Linked DNA regions of Homo sapiens: regions 1 and 2 are each linked to region 3. The links are contacts of gene promoters, found by promoter capture Hi-C in blood cells and fetal thymus (Javierre and others, 2016). All regions are on one chromosome and are shown on one strand. The core of a region is centred on a gene start or on the middle of the fragment in contact, and the rest is flanking DNA. Distances in the headings are between cores, read along the strand shown.

Region 1 (4,032 bases), core at 387-2,886, 280 kb before region 3:
CCGCACTCCAGCCTGGGTGACAGAACAAGACTCTGTCTCAAAAAAAAAAAAAAATCACTAATAATGACAAAGTGCATATTTCTTGAGCTGAGAATATTTTTGTATCTGTGTTTCCATTGTTCGTTTCCAAAAACAATTACAGGTTGCTAATACACATCAACTGGACTGTTCAGTAGAAGCTCCTGTGTTTCTCATGATCTCTGACAGCATCCAGGGGTTCACATGGAGAAAGCAGAATATGCTGAGGTCTGAGATTTGATGGATGGTGATGTTGGAAATCTTTTTATGTGCCCATTTATCTCAGTATATCTGCTTCAGTGAAATGTCTCTTCATAGTTCTATCCATTTTCTAATTTGATTATTTTGCTTTTTTTTTAAGTCGTTCTAGGATTCTTTATACATTCCACATACCAGTTTTATGTCAGATATATGGTAGGCAAATATTTTCTATTATTCAGTACTGTATTAGTCCATTTTCACACTGCCTAAACCCTCCTGTGACAACCTGAGACTGGGTAATTTATAAACAAAAGAGGTTTAATTGACTCACAGTTCCGCATGGCTAGGGAGCCCTCAGGAAACTTACAATCATAGAGGAAGGCAAAGGCGAAGCAAGGCACGTCTTGCTTGCAGCAGGAGAGAGAGCGATCAAAGGAGGAACTATCACAGATTTTTAAACCATGAGATCTCCTGAGAGCTCACTATCATGAGAACGGCTTGGGGAAAACCACCCCCATGATCCAGTCACCTCCCACCAGGTCCCTCCCTCAACACCTGAGGTTTATACTTGAAAATGAGATTTGATGGGGACACTGAGCCAAACCATATCAAATACCTTTTCTTTCATCGTCTGAAGGTCTTTCACAGACCAAAAGTTTTTAATTTGGTAAATACCAGTTGATTTTTTTTTTCTTTAATGAATCATGCTTTTGCTGCTATGGCTAAGAATTTTTGAACAAGCTCTTGATTCTTACGATTTTATTGTGAGTAATTTTTTCTTTCAGTCTCCTACAGGATACCATTTTATGGTTTGATATTTTACATTTAGGCTATGGTCAATGTTGAACTAATGTCTGTACGGTTGTGAAGTTTGAGTAGAGATGACTTCTTTCCTGCTGTGGATATTAAGTTAGCCCCTCACCAGTTTTTAAAAATTCTTCATTCAATTCCCTTGGTAACTTTGTCAAAAATCAGTTGGAAGTACCTGTAGAGGCTATTTTTGTACTCTCTTACTGTATTGCATCAATCCATATGTCTTTTATTGCCCCAAAACCACACAGTTTTTATTACCTTTCCTATATTGGTAGTCTTGAAATCCAGTGGAGTGATTCCAGACACTTCATTTTTGTTTTTTGGTAACTTTTATGGATCCAATCACTGCTAGTTTTGGATTCCCCACCGAAATCCCAGTTCCCGGACTGCTAAGCTGCAGGAGACTCCCTAGCAGGATCGGGTCCAACCTGCAGGCAAAATAGTTTTAACATAAACCGTTTTCAACTTGGTAAGTGGAAAACATTTTGGTTTCCACCATAAGTGGCCCACACAACTCTGATTTTTTTACCTTAAAGCGGCGCAGACCCCGCCCACTCCAGCCATTCCTTCAGGCTGCCCGGGCTCTTCTCTCCGCGCATGCGCAGTTTCCTACAGGCCCGGAAACGGATCGCGTTGGGTGAAGGTGACGGCGTCGAGCGTGAGTGACCCTCTGTGTAGATTAAACCTGCGCTCCCTGTTTCCCATTTCCACAGCCGATGTCCAGGGTCGATACGGCCCTTAAAATCCCCGTACACTCCACCCCAGGTGAATACAGGCCTCGCAGTGTGGGTCCGGAGTCGCTTCCCTTTGGGTTGAAGTCGCTTTGAGGCTGCTCCCCGTCCCCGGCCTTTTGCTTCTTCCTCCCGCTTAAAACCTTTTCCTGACCCCCTCCCCCATCCCCGGGCTTTTTAAAGTCTTCACCCAAGAGGTGTATTCCCGTCCTGGGTGCCTCCCAGCCTTGCCCTCGTCGGCCCCTGGAGCGCAGCGCCGCAGCTGCAGCCGCAGTCCCGGGGAGCCTTGCGTCCTCTGCCTGGTCCTGGGATCCTGCAGACCCCACCCCTGTCTGAAGGCGCTGTCGCGCCCCACCTCCCTCCTCCTCGTGCCGGGCCCCGCTGCTCCCCAGGCCTCCCCTGAGCCCGCGCTGGGGAGGTGCTCAGGGCCTGTCCTGTGACACCCGATGTTCTTGCCTGCCCTCCTCCACCCCGTGGAAAATGCGCTCCTCCAGGATGCAGGCGTCTTACCCCAAACCGTCCTGTGAATGTGTGGGCCAAAGGGATCGAGGGACAGAGAGAGCAGTAGAAAACCTGAGACAGGAAGGAATGAGGCAAACCAATAAACAGATGGCAAAGTAGAGGATGGTTAGAGATTTTCAGAGACAGTAAGAGTGGAAGAAGAAGCCGAGAAAGTAGCAGGGAGAGAAAAGTAACTAGACACATTTCGAGAAAAAGCACAGTATCCAGAGAGATGAAGGACAGCCAGGTAGGGAGAGGGGCAGCAAAGGAGGAGGCTCCTCAGACAGAGAGTGGGGGAGAGCAGAAGGGATTTGGAGCCAGGGCAGACAGGGCAGTGTGGTACCGGGACAGCAAGAGGGGGCAGCCGATGACAAGGAGAAGCAGAGGGAGAACCACAGCACGGGGAGGCCTGGGATCTGGGGGTGCCAAAGAGTGGGGACAACGGTGTGTAACAGGGAAGAGGGAATTTAACAGGGAGTGCTGAAATGGGGAAGAAAGAGCCAGAAATATGTGGAGACTGGGACAATGAAAAGATTAGGAAGAAAGAGGAATTAAATACATTGCAAGAATGGAAAGAGCAAGTGGAAGAGAAAGAATAGAGGGAAGACGGGGAGGAGCAGCAGGAGAGGAGAGGGGCTCAAAATGAGCAGAATCCTAGGGAGAAAATAAAGGGGAAGGAAAGAGCTAGAGAAAGAAGGTGAGAATGAGAGCGATGTACGGAACGAGGGAGGGAAACACACCATAATGAGGAAAGAGGGGGACCCCAGGTCCAGGTGAGTTGTGAACTGACTGGATGTGATGACTACCTTTTGACCTGTTGATTTCTGTCTTTATAAGTTTAAAATGCACAGATGATGAGAATTGCAAAGCTCCTGTCTATTAAGGCTGGTGCATTTTATAATTATGGCATCAGAAGTTAGCTTCCACTTGCAATCCCTGTTAAGGCAGAGGGAAGTGACTTGACTCATTAATTCCACAGGTCATCCTCTTCCCCTTCCCTGGCGTTGGGGCAGGGGGAGGGGAAGGGGGAGTGGGAGAGTAAAGCTGGGCAGAAAGTGAAAGACTGTCACTACATAGTGTCTCTCTAAAGCAGGGGTGTCCAATCTTTTGGCTTCCCTGGGCCACATTGGAAGAAGAATTGTCTTGGGCCACACATAAAGTACACTAACACTAACAATAGCTGATGAGCTAAAAAAAAAAAAAAAAAAAAAAAAAAAAGTTGCAAGAAAATCTCAAAATGTTTTAAGGAAGTTTAGGAATTTGTGTTGGGCTGCATTCAAAGCCTTCCTGGGCTGCGGATTGGACAACGTTGCTCAAAAGGAACATTAAAAGTGTTGAGGCTGGGCATGGTGGCTCATGCCTGTAATCCCAGCACTTTGGGAGGCCGAGGTGGGTGAATCACAAGGTCAGTAGTTCAAGACCAGCCTGGCAAAGATGGTGAAACCCCATCTCTACTAAAAATACAAAACTTAGCCAGGTATGGTGACACGCATCTGTAATCCCAGCTACTCAGGAGGCTGAGGCAAAGCATTGTGTAAACCCGGGAGGCGGAGGTTGCAGTGAGCCAAGAGCCGAGATCCGGTGACAGAGCAAGACTGCGTCTGAAAAAAAAACAAAGAACAAACAAAAAAAGTGTTGTTGCTTTTTGTAATTGATTTGCTTTTTTTCTTACTAATTCCCTTTCATCTCATGTATAGTTCATTTTGCAACTTGAGATAGATCTTCATTAATTCAGTTTCTATTTTTCTGTATATAATTATTTCCAAAG
Region 2 (4,013 bases), core at 1,398-3,897, 400 kb before region 3:
GGTTCTGCATGGCAACACGAGTTGTGGGCCACATTTTCATGGAAAATAACCTTTCACTTATGACGATTTCTTCCCCCTGAATATTAAAAGTGAAATATATAGAGAGATATATTGTTAACAAATTTCCCATTTCGTGTATTTCTTTTTACAGCACCTACAATGTATGAGTGACTTTTATAAATGCTGTACCTATTCTGACATTTAATATTCACAACTCCATGAGGTAGGAATTCATATTATTCTCCTTTCACCAACTCTAAAAGAGTTTAAGCACAAGGAGATTAGGTGACTCATTTAAATACCAGAAGAGTGAAGATTTGAACGTGAGTAGCCTGGTTGCAGTAACATTGGTGTTCACTACTACGCTATAATAGTTGCCTAGTTGTGTCCTTTATATATCTATACACACATATATATACATATACACACACACATACATACACGCACACCTACATATGTATAAATATTTGTCATGTTCACTTTATAAATTTGGTTTGATAATTTCCTATTTTTGTCAAAGTATTTATTCTACATATCAATATAACTTATGAGTGAATATTCATAGGTCTTGATAAGTTATAATAGGCACTAAATAATTTCATATGACCCAATGTATTTAATGTGAGTAGATGTTAAGATACCAGCAGAAACACTCATTTCACTGTCTGCAAAGACTAAAAATACTACGGCACCCATCACGGAAATTAATGTACAACATTAGGTAGAGTGTGCACTAAAATATGAGACATGAAACATAAAAGGTGATAAAGCATTTTAGGCTAGAAAACGAATCATTTTAAAGATTATGTAACTATATATTTATTATTTTAAAACAACTAACTGAAACTTGAATTAATATTTGATTTGGGAAACCTATGAAAATATAATAATTCTGCAAAATGGAATTTGAAAGTATGGAATCTTGTGCATTTAATACATTGAAAAGAGAAAGAGGCTGGGCGCTGTGGCTCACACCTGTAATCCCAGCACTTTGGGAGGCCAAGATGGGTGGGTCACAAGGTCAAAAGATCGAGACATCGTAGCTAATACGGTGAAACCCCGTCTGTACGGGTGAGACTCCGTCTCAAAAAAAAAAAATTTAAATACATATATGTATTTTTATATGTAAAATAAATAGAATTTTTATATGTGTATGTTTATATGTAAATAACATATATGTATTTTTATGCTAAAATGCACTCTCATTTTTTTTTCACCCTTCACCTGTTATCAGATGTAATTCCCAGTTACGAAAACAGAGACCCAAAGAGACAGTGGATAGACCTTGGTTTACTCAGATACCCCCATATGGGCTCATCTTCTCTTGGGGAGCCTCCAGTCAATAAGTTTCCTCTCTGGGCCCAAGAGAAATCAATTCAGTTGGCCAGGAGAATTGCCAAGCACATATTATGTTAAAAATACTCTTCCAAATAACTGAGAATAAAGACTTTACAGACTAAAGGCCAGGAGCGGTGGCTCACGCCTATAACCCCAGCACTTCATGAGGCCCAGGTGGGCGGATCACATGAGCTCAGGGGTCCCAGACCAACCTGGCTAACGTGGTGAAACCCCGTCTCTACTAAAAATGCAAAAATTAGCCAGGCATGGTGGCACACGCCTGTAGTCCCAGGTACTCGGGAGGCTGAGGCAGGAAAATCGCTTGACCCAGGAGGCGTAGGTTGCCGTGAGCCGAGATCGCGCCATTACAATCCAGCCTGGGAAACAGAGACTCCATCTCAAAATAATAATAAAAATAATAATAACGATAGTATATTAGTAATTAATAACTTAGACAAAACACAACATACCAACTCCAATAAATCCAGCACTTGGATTTGTAATTTATCTCAAGAAATGTGCATTAGGATAATAAAGGAAAATAAATTTAGATCGATACAAGCAGAACTTTGCGTTCTTTTAAAGCCAAGCCTCAGCCTTCCACCCCCCACCGCCCAGGGTCTGACCCCATAAATTCTCTGGAACTCAGCCCATGGTGCATCTCTGCCTCCTGGGTGACTGGGGAGCGGAAATAAAAATTACGTTCCAGTGAAAGTCAATATAAAATTGTACACTCCGCACAGGCACAAAAATGCATCTCATTCCAGTTTCCATCACCTACGCAGACAACTCCAGCTTTCGCTTAATTAAATACAAATTTTAATCGTCCGGATTTCAGAAGTTCCTGGATCCAAGAGCTTCCTTATACCGTCGCCCTCTCCCATCCACCAGGTCCCAGCGCTCCTCCCGCCTCGTCGCAGGACGCGCCTCCATCGCTCGCAGAAACGTTTTCAAGCAAACCTTTCCCATCTTAAGCTCCGATTCCAATATAAGGGGCCCACAGGTCTCTAATTTTTTACTTAGCTAGGCTCCAAAGGACACCATAGAGATTCAAGGGAATCCAAAAGTGAAGAATCGAGTACTGCTGGGCGACAAACAGGCCTAAAAAAGTCGCTGGGACGCGCCGAGGAGAGGTCCGGCAGTCCGACCCCTAGGCCCCGCCCATCCCGCCATTGTCCCCGCCCATCCCGCCATTGTCCCCGCCCATCCCCGCCATTTGCCCGCCCATCCCCACAGTTGTCCGCGCCCTGCCCCTGCCCTTGCCCCTTGCGCCGCCCCAGTGCACTCGCGTACGCGCAGGTTCCTGCCGACCCGGAAGCGGATCTCGCGGGGCTACTGGCGCTCTCGGGTGAGTCTCCGTCTTTCGGGTTCAAGCCTGCGCCTCGCGGGCCACAGGTTCCCACGCTCCGCTGTCGGGTTTTGGGGTCGCCCTGTAGGTTAAAACCCCGAACCTGCTCATTCCTCTCGCGGCGTGGCCCTAAGACGTTCCCAGTCCCGTCGCTCCGAGAGGGTCTAGAGATCTGCGTCCATTTCGGATTAAAATCGTTCTGAAGTGGGTACTGGCCCCGACCTTTTTGCTTTAGGTCAGTGTGGACACCGACCGCCCACCGCGTCGTTTCTCTGCTTAAAACTCTTCTCTGACTCCCTCTTCCCTCCCCCTGGTAAAGCCCTCACTCGGGGTGGATACACACCCTTCGCCCTTCTCCAGGGAGAACAGAGGGGAAGCAGAAATGGAGGATAAAGAGGGAGAAATGCGCGAAATTAGAGAGCCATCAGAAACAATAGCAGGGACTGAAAAAAAGGATGCTACCAGGATGGGGCCAAACACTCTGTCAGAGAAGGAGAGGAAGGGAAGCCAAATGAGCAGAAAGGGACAGGAAAACGCCGAAATGGGAAAAAGAAAAGGAAAGAAACAGAAGGTGGAAGAGAAACATTTATAGAGAGGGGGAAAAAAATCACATAATGGTGGAGAAAGGGGGGGGCACCCAAATCCATGTGAGTGTGGATTGATTTAATATGGAACATTAAGTTGTGAAGTACTGATGTATGGCTCTATAATTAATTTAAAATTTGCTTCATTGTTTGTGCAGAAGAGCATGAAAATTGCAAAACTACGGTGTGAGGCTTCTGCGTTTTCTAATTATTACATCAGAAGCAACCCTTATTCAGCCAGAGGGTTAACTGACTTAGCTCAGTTAATTCCAGCTCACCCTCTTCCCTTTCTCTGATCTTGAGGAGAGTCAAGAAATGGGAAGAAACTGTGACACCGTATGCTGCTTTTGCAAACAGACATTAACAATATTATTCCCTCCTTTTTTGTGTGTGGCTTGTGTCATTTTCTAAATTTGACGTGTATTCAACTTGTCTTAAATGTAATTCCATAATTTATTGGATTTAAAAAAAATTTTCAAAGTATTTTCTCTTAAATGTATTGTTCAGCTTATGAGGTTTAAATGCTTTCTTTTGCTTTCTTTTATTTATTTATTTATTTTTTTGAGACGGAGTCTCACTCTGTCACCCAGGCTGGAGTGCAGTGGCTTGATCTCGGCTCACTGCAACCTCCGCCTCCAGGGTTCAAGCGATTCTCCTGCCTTAGCCTCCCGAGTGGCTGGGATTAAAGGCATGCGCCACCATGCCCGGTGAATTTGTATTTTTAGCAGAGACGGGATTTTCAC
Region 3 (4,348 bases), core at 1,609-4,108:
CAGACATGTGCCCCCAGGCCTGGCTAATTGTTGCATTTTCAGTAAAGACTGGCTTTCACCATGTTGTCCAGACTGGTCTGGAACTCCTTACCTCAGGTGATCCCCCTGGTACAGCCTTTCAAATTGCTAGTATTGCAGGAGTGAGCCACCGGGACCGCCTAAGGATAGCTTTAAATCAACAAAATAATAAGTTTTGTTAGACTGTCAGCAGACCGGCAGGTAGACATATCTTAGTTTTTACCTAGGCGCCTATGTAAGAAAAACAGGCCAGGTGCAGTGGCTCACGCCTGTAATCCCAGCACTTTGGGAGGCCGAGGCGGGAGCATCACAAGGTCAGGAGATCGAGACCATCCTGGCTAACACGGTGAAACCCCGTCTCTACTAAAAATTCCAAAAATTAGCCGGGCGTGGTGGCGGGCGCCTGTAGTCCCAGCTACTCTGGAGGCTGAGGCAGGAGAATGGCGTGAACCCGGGAGGCGGAGCTTGCAGTGAGCGGATATTGCGCCACTGCATTCCAGCCTGGGTGACAGAGCGATACACCGTCTCAAAAAAAAAAAAAAAAGAAAGAAAAACTTAAAGAGGAGGCATTTCCTTTGTTTATGAGGACACCCTACTTTGTAACTGGTAGCGTGTAGTGCAATAAAATTTAGTTTCCTAATATCAATTTAAAAAAAAACAGTTTACCTGTAAGTAGGAAGACTACCCAGCCCCAGAGATAAGACCTTTTGGCATCATTGTCCCTTCTTACGGAGTGATAAAGTAACCTTCCTTGAAGTGTATCAATCCATCACCAGTCAAGCTGCCGCAGCCTATGCACTGGTCTTGAATGGAAAATGTGTTGATTCTGCTAAAGCTTCTCTGTCTTTCCCTGTGTGTGAAACCTTAACATCTCTACATGGGAACACGGGCCCCCTTCATTTGGAGTTGATGTTTCCAGATGGCTATCCTCAAACTTTGTGTTCCAATAAACTCTATAATTAATCGTGTATTCTGAATTTTATTATTTACTGCTGACGTCAGTTTCCGTCAGATTGTAGGAGCCTCACTAGAGAGGGCACCTGTCGCCATGTCGTAAAACTCACACTTGTCAAAAAGACGTGGGTTAATGTATTTCCCCTCCTTCTGCATGAAGCTAGTTAGCTGACACAGATGGTCACCTCCATTACCAAGTAGAGCCAGGATGAACTATGTGCGACCAAAGACTTGTCAAGTCCTCTTCCCTGAGGACTGATTAGTGTTTATCTTGAAAACATGTACTTAATGGGTTGTATAGAGCAGTGAAGTTTCTCTCTTTTCAACCTCTCAGCTCTTTGCCTGTATTTCCCAACACATTCTGGTCTAAGGCTTATTTACTAATAAAATGGTTTTTATTTCTTCCTGTTTTGTCATGAAGATGATTTCTCATTTTGGGGAAGATTTTTTAGTTTTCAATTGTATTTTTTCAACATTTAAAAAGCGAAGTAAAGAGTATTTCTTGGGCCAGGCACAGTGGCTCACGCCTGTAATCCCAGAACTTCGGGAGGCCGAGGCAGGCGGATCACTTGAAGTCAGGAGTTCGAGACCAGCCTGTCCAACATGATGAAACCCCGTCTGTACCCAAAATACAAAAATTAGCCGGGCATGGTGGGTGTGCCTGTAATGCCAGCTACTCCGGAGGCTGAGGCAGAAGAATCGCTTCAACCCAGGAGGCAGAGGCTGCAGTGAGCCGAGATGTCACCATTGTACTCCAGCCTGGGCGACAGAGAAATACTCAGTCTCAAAAAAAAAAAAAAAAAGAAGAAGAAGAAGAAAAAGAAAAAATGTAAATAAAAAGGAGAAAGTAACAGATCTCTTTTACAAATGTGCTGGGACAACTAACTGGATATCCATATGGAGAAGAGTAATGTTGTATTCCTATCTCACACAAGCAAATTTAGTTTGTTTATTTATTTTTAGAGAGGGAGTCTGGCTCTGTCGCCCAGGCTGGAGTGCAGTGGCTCGGTCTCGGCCCACTGCAAGCTCCACCTCCCATGTTCACCGCATTCTCCTGCCTCAGCCTCCTGAGTAGCTGGGACTACAGGCGCCCGCCACCACGCCCGGCTAATTTTTGTATTTTTAGTGGAGACGGGGTTTCATCGTGTAAGCCAGGATGGTCGCGATCTCCTGACCTCGTGATCCGCCCGCCTCAGCCTCCCAAAGTGCTGGGATTACAGGCGTGAGTCACCGTGCCCGGCCTAATAAAAATTTTATTTTAAAAATTTAAAAAAGAGAGAGACTGCGGGAGGGAATGTTACATTGTCGCGCAGGCTGTCCTGGACCCCCAGGCTGAGCGATCCTCCCGCCGCTGCTTCCTGAGTAGCTGGGACCTCAGGCTCCCACGCCCGCATCCCTGCTGTGTTTAAGCAGCAGGTGGTGACCTCACTCCTCCCTGGCCTGAGCACTCCGTCTGGCATCCCAGGCTGTGGCCCTAGGGATGTCTCTGAAGCTGAGCACTGGGTGGACTCTCCCTCCTGAGTGAATGGAGAATAGAAAGGGAGAAGATTTCTATACTGTCCTGTGGGCCATCAGCATGAAATCCTACGTTCCGCCCAGAAAGGGCTTTGCATTTTACATTCTAGTTTGCATCCTCCTTCCAGACTATTCCAGGGCTTTTGAATTATCCGTCTGCCTTCCTGGGGGCTCTCGCCGCCAAAACCCGGAGAACGGGTTGGGAGGAGGCTGAGAGATGCACAGGTCCCGCTCCGGCCCCGCCCTCTGCGGGTTCTAAAGGGCAAGGTCTCGCCGCTTCGCGCCCCGCCCACACCTCACCCGGGCCCCGCTCGCCTCCTCGTTGGCTCCACCCAGGCCTGGTTTCTGTCCTGCGCGCGCAGATTCGCGCAGACCAGGAAGTGGATCCCGTGGAATGACGGTCACGCCGCGGCGGGCGGTGAGTTTTGCTCTGTGTGGTGTTAAGTCTGAGCTTCCCAGGTCCCCGGCACTTCTGTACATGGGATGTGGGGTCCCCATAGACCTGGAAGTTCTCGCCTTTCTTCCTTCACTCAGAGCAAATGGAGATGTTCTACTGGGAGTCCGGAAGCCCCTTCTTTTTAGGTTTAAAGTCGCCCTGAGGCTGGTCCCGTCCCGGGTCTTTCTGCCATAGGGCAATGTATACGTTTCCTATCGCGTAGTTTTCCTGCTCAAAACCGTTTTTTGACTCCTTCCGCACGGCTCTTTTTAAAGTCCTCACCCTAGAGGTGTATTCCCACCCTGTGCGCCTCCCAGCCTTACTCTCCTGGGTTCCTGGAGCACAGCGCGGCGACCCCAGTCCCGGGAAGGCTGCGTTCTGTGGTCCTGGGATCCTGCGGATCCCACCCTTGTCCGAAGGCGTCGTCGCTCCCCACCTCCCTCCTCCTCTTGCTGGGCCCTGCTGCTCCCCAGATCTCCCCTCCGCAGTCACCGCGTCCCCTGAGCCCTCGTTGGAGAGGTGCCTGGGGCTTGTCCTGTGACGCGGGGTGTTCTTGCCCGCCCAGCTCCAGCACTTGGAAAATGCGCTTCTCCGAGATGCAGGCGTCTTACTCCAAACCCTCTTGTGATCGTGTGGGCCAAAGGGATCAGGAGACAGAGAGAGGGACTGAGAGAGCAGTAGAAAACCTGAGACAGAGAAAAGAAGAATGAGAAAGACCCATAACAGATGGCAAAGTAGAGGATGGGTGAGGGATTTGCCAAGAGACAGCAAAAGTGATAAAAGATAAGAAAGCAGGAGGAGAAAAGCAACTGGAGAAATGTAGAGAAAAGCTAGATGTACAGAGAGATGAAGGACAGCAAGGTAGGGAGAGGGGCAGAAATGTGGAGGCTCATCAGAGTGAGGGAGAGGAGGAGGGATGTGGAGCCGGGTCAGACAGAGCAGAGTGGTGCTGGTGGCAAGGAGAACAGAGGGAGAAGCACAGCGGGGAGGACACCTGGGGATCTGGGGTGCCAGATTGGGTCCAGGGGGTTATAACAGAGAAGAGAGAATTTAACAGGGAGAGCAGAGGAGGCGCATAGATGGGAGAAGAGGCAGAAATCTATGGAGATTGAGGACGATCTAAAGATTGGGGAGAAGGACCAACAGGAGGTTAAATAAGTTGCAAGGATGGAGCCCAGCTAATTTTTGTATTTCTAGTAGAGATAGGGTTTCACCATGTTGGCCAGGTTGGTCTCAAACTCCTGACCTCAGGTAATCCACCCACCTCCACCTCCCAAAGTGCTGGAATTACAGGTGTGAACCACCTCAGCTGTCCACCCATGTATTTCTTGATTGAAATAATTTGCTTATGTCTTGGTTCTACAGCTGACCCTGTTTCCCTGTTTTCAAGGTCAAGAGCTGTGTGTTTACACTGCTGCATTTTAT

Evidence for each region. Contacts are between HindIII fragments. The CHiCAGO score rates a contact against its expected background, and 5 or more counts as called.
Region 1: a contact is called between the fragment with the promoter of ZNF415 here and the fragment with the promoter of ZNF468 in region 3, in 6 of 17 cell types (M0 macrophages, total B cells, neutrophils and 3 more). The highest score is 8.2, in M0 macrophages.
Region 2: the fragment with the promoter of ZNF677 here is called in contact with the fragment with the promoter of ZNF468 in region 3 in 4 of 17 cell types (neutrophils, naive CD4 T cells, naive CD8 T cells and 1 more); the score reaches 8.4 in neutrophils.

Annotation. Positions count from the first base shown.
Region 1 is chr19:53,130,514-53,134,545 of GRCh38, reverse strand. ZNF415 (zinc finger protein 415) reads left to right here and starts at 1,636. Exons shown (of 4, transcript NM_018355.4): 1 at 1,636-1,690. The HindIII fragment of the contact is 7,510 bases long and covers 1-4,032 here.
Region 2 is chr19:53,253,507-53,257,519 of GRCh38, reverse strand. It overlaps ZNF677 (zinc finger protein 677), which reads left to right and starts at 2,647. Exons shown (of 5, transcript NM_182609.4): 1 at 2,647-2,686. The HindIII fragment of the contact is 13,972 bases long and covers 1-4,013 here.
Region 3 is chr19:52,856,129-52,860,476 of GRCh38, reverse strand. It overlaps ZNF468 (zinc finger protein 468), which reads left to right and starts at 2,858. Exons shown (of 4, transcript NM_001008801.2): 1 at 2,858-2,905. It also overlaps a transcript of ZNF320 not described here. RefSeq lists an enhancer at 3,180-3,259. The HindIII fragment of the contact is 10,660 bases long and covers 856-4,348 here.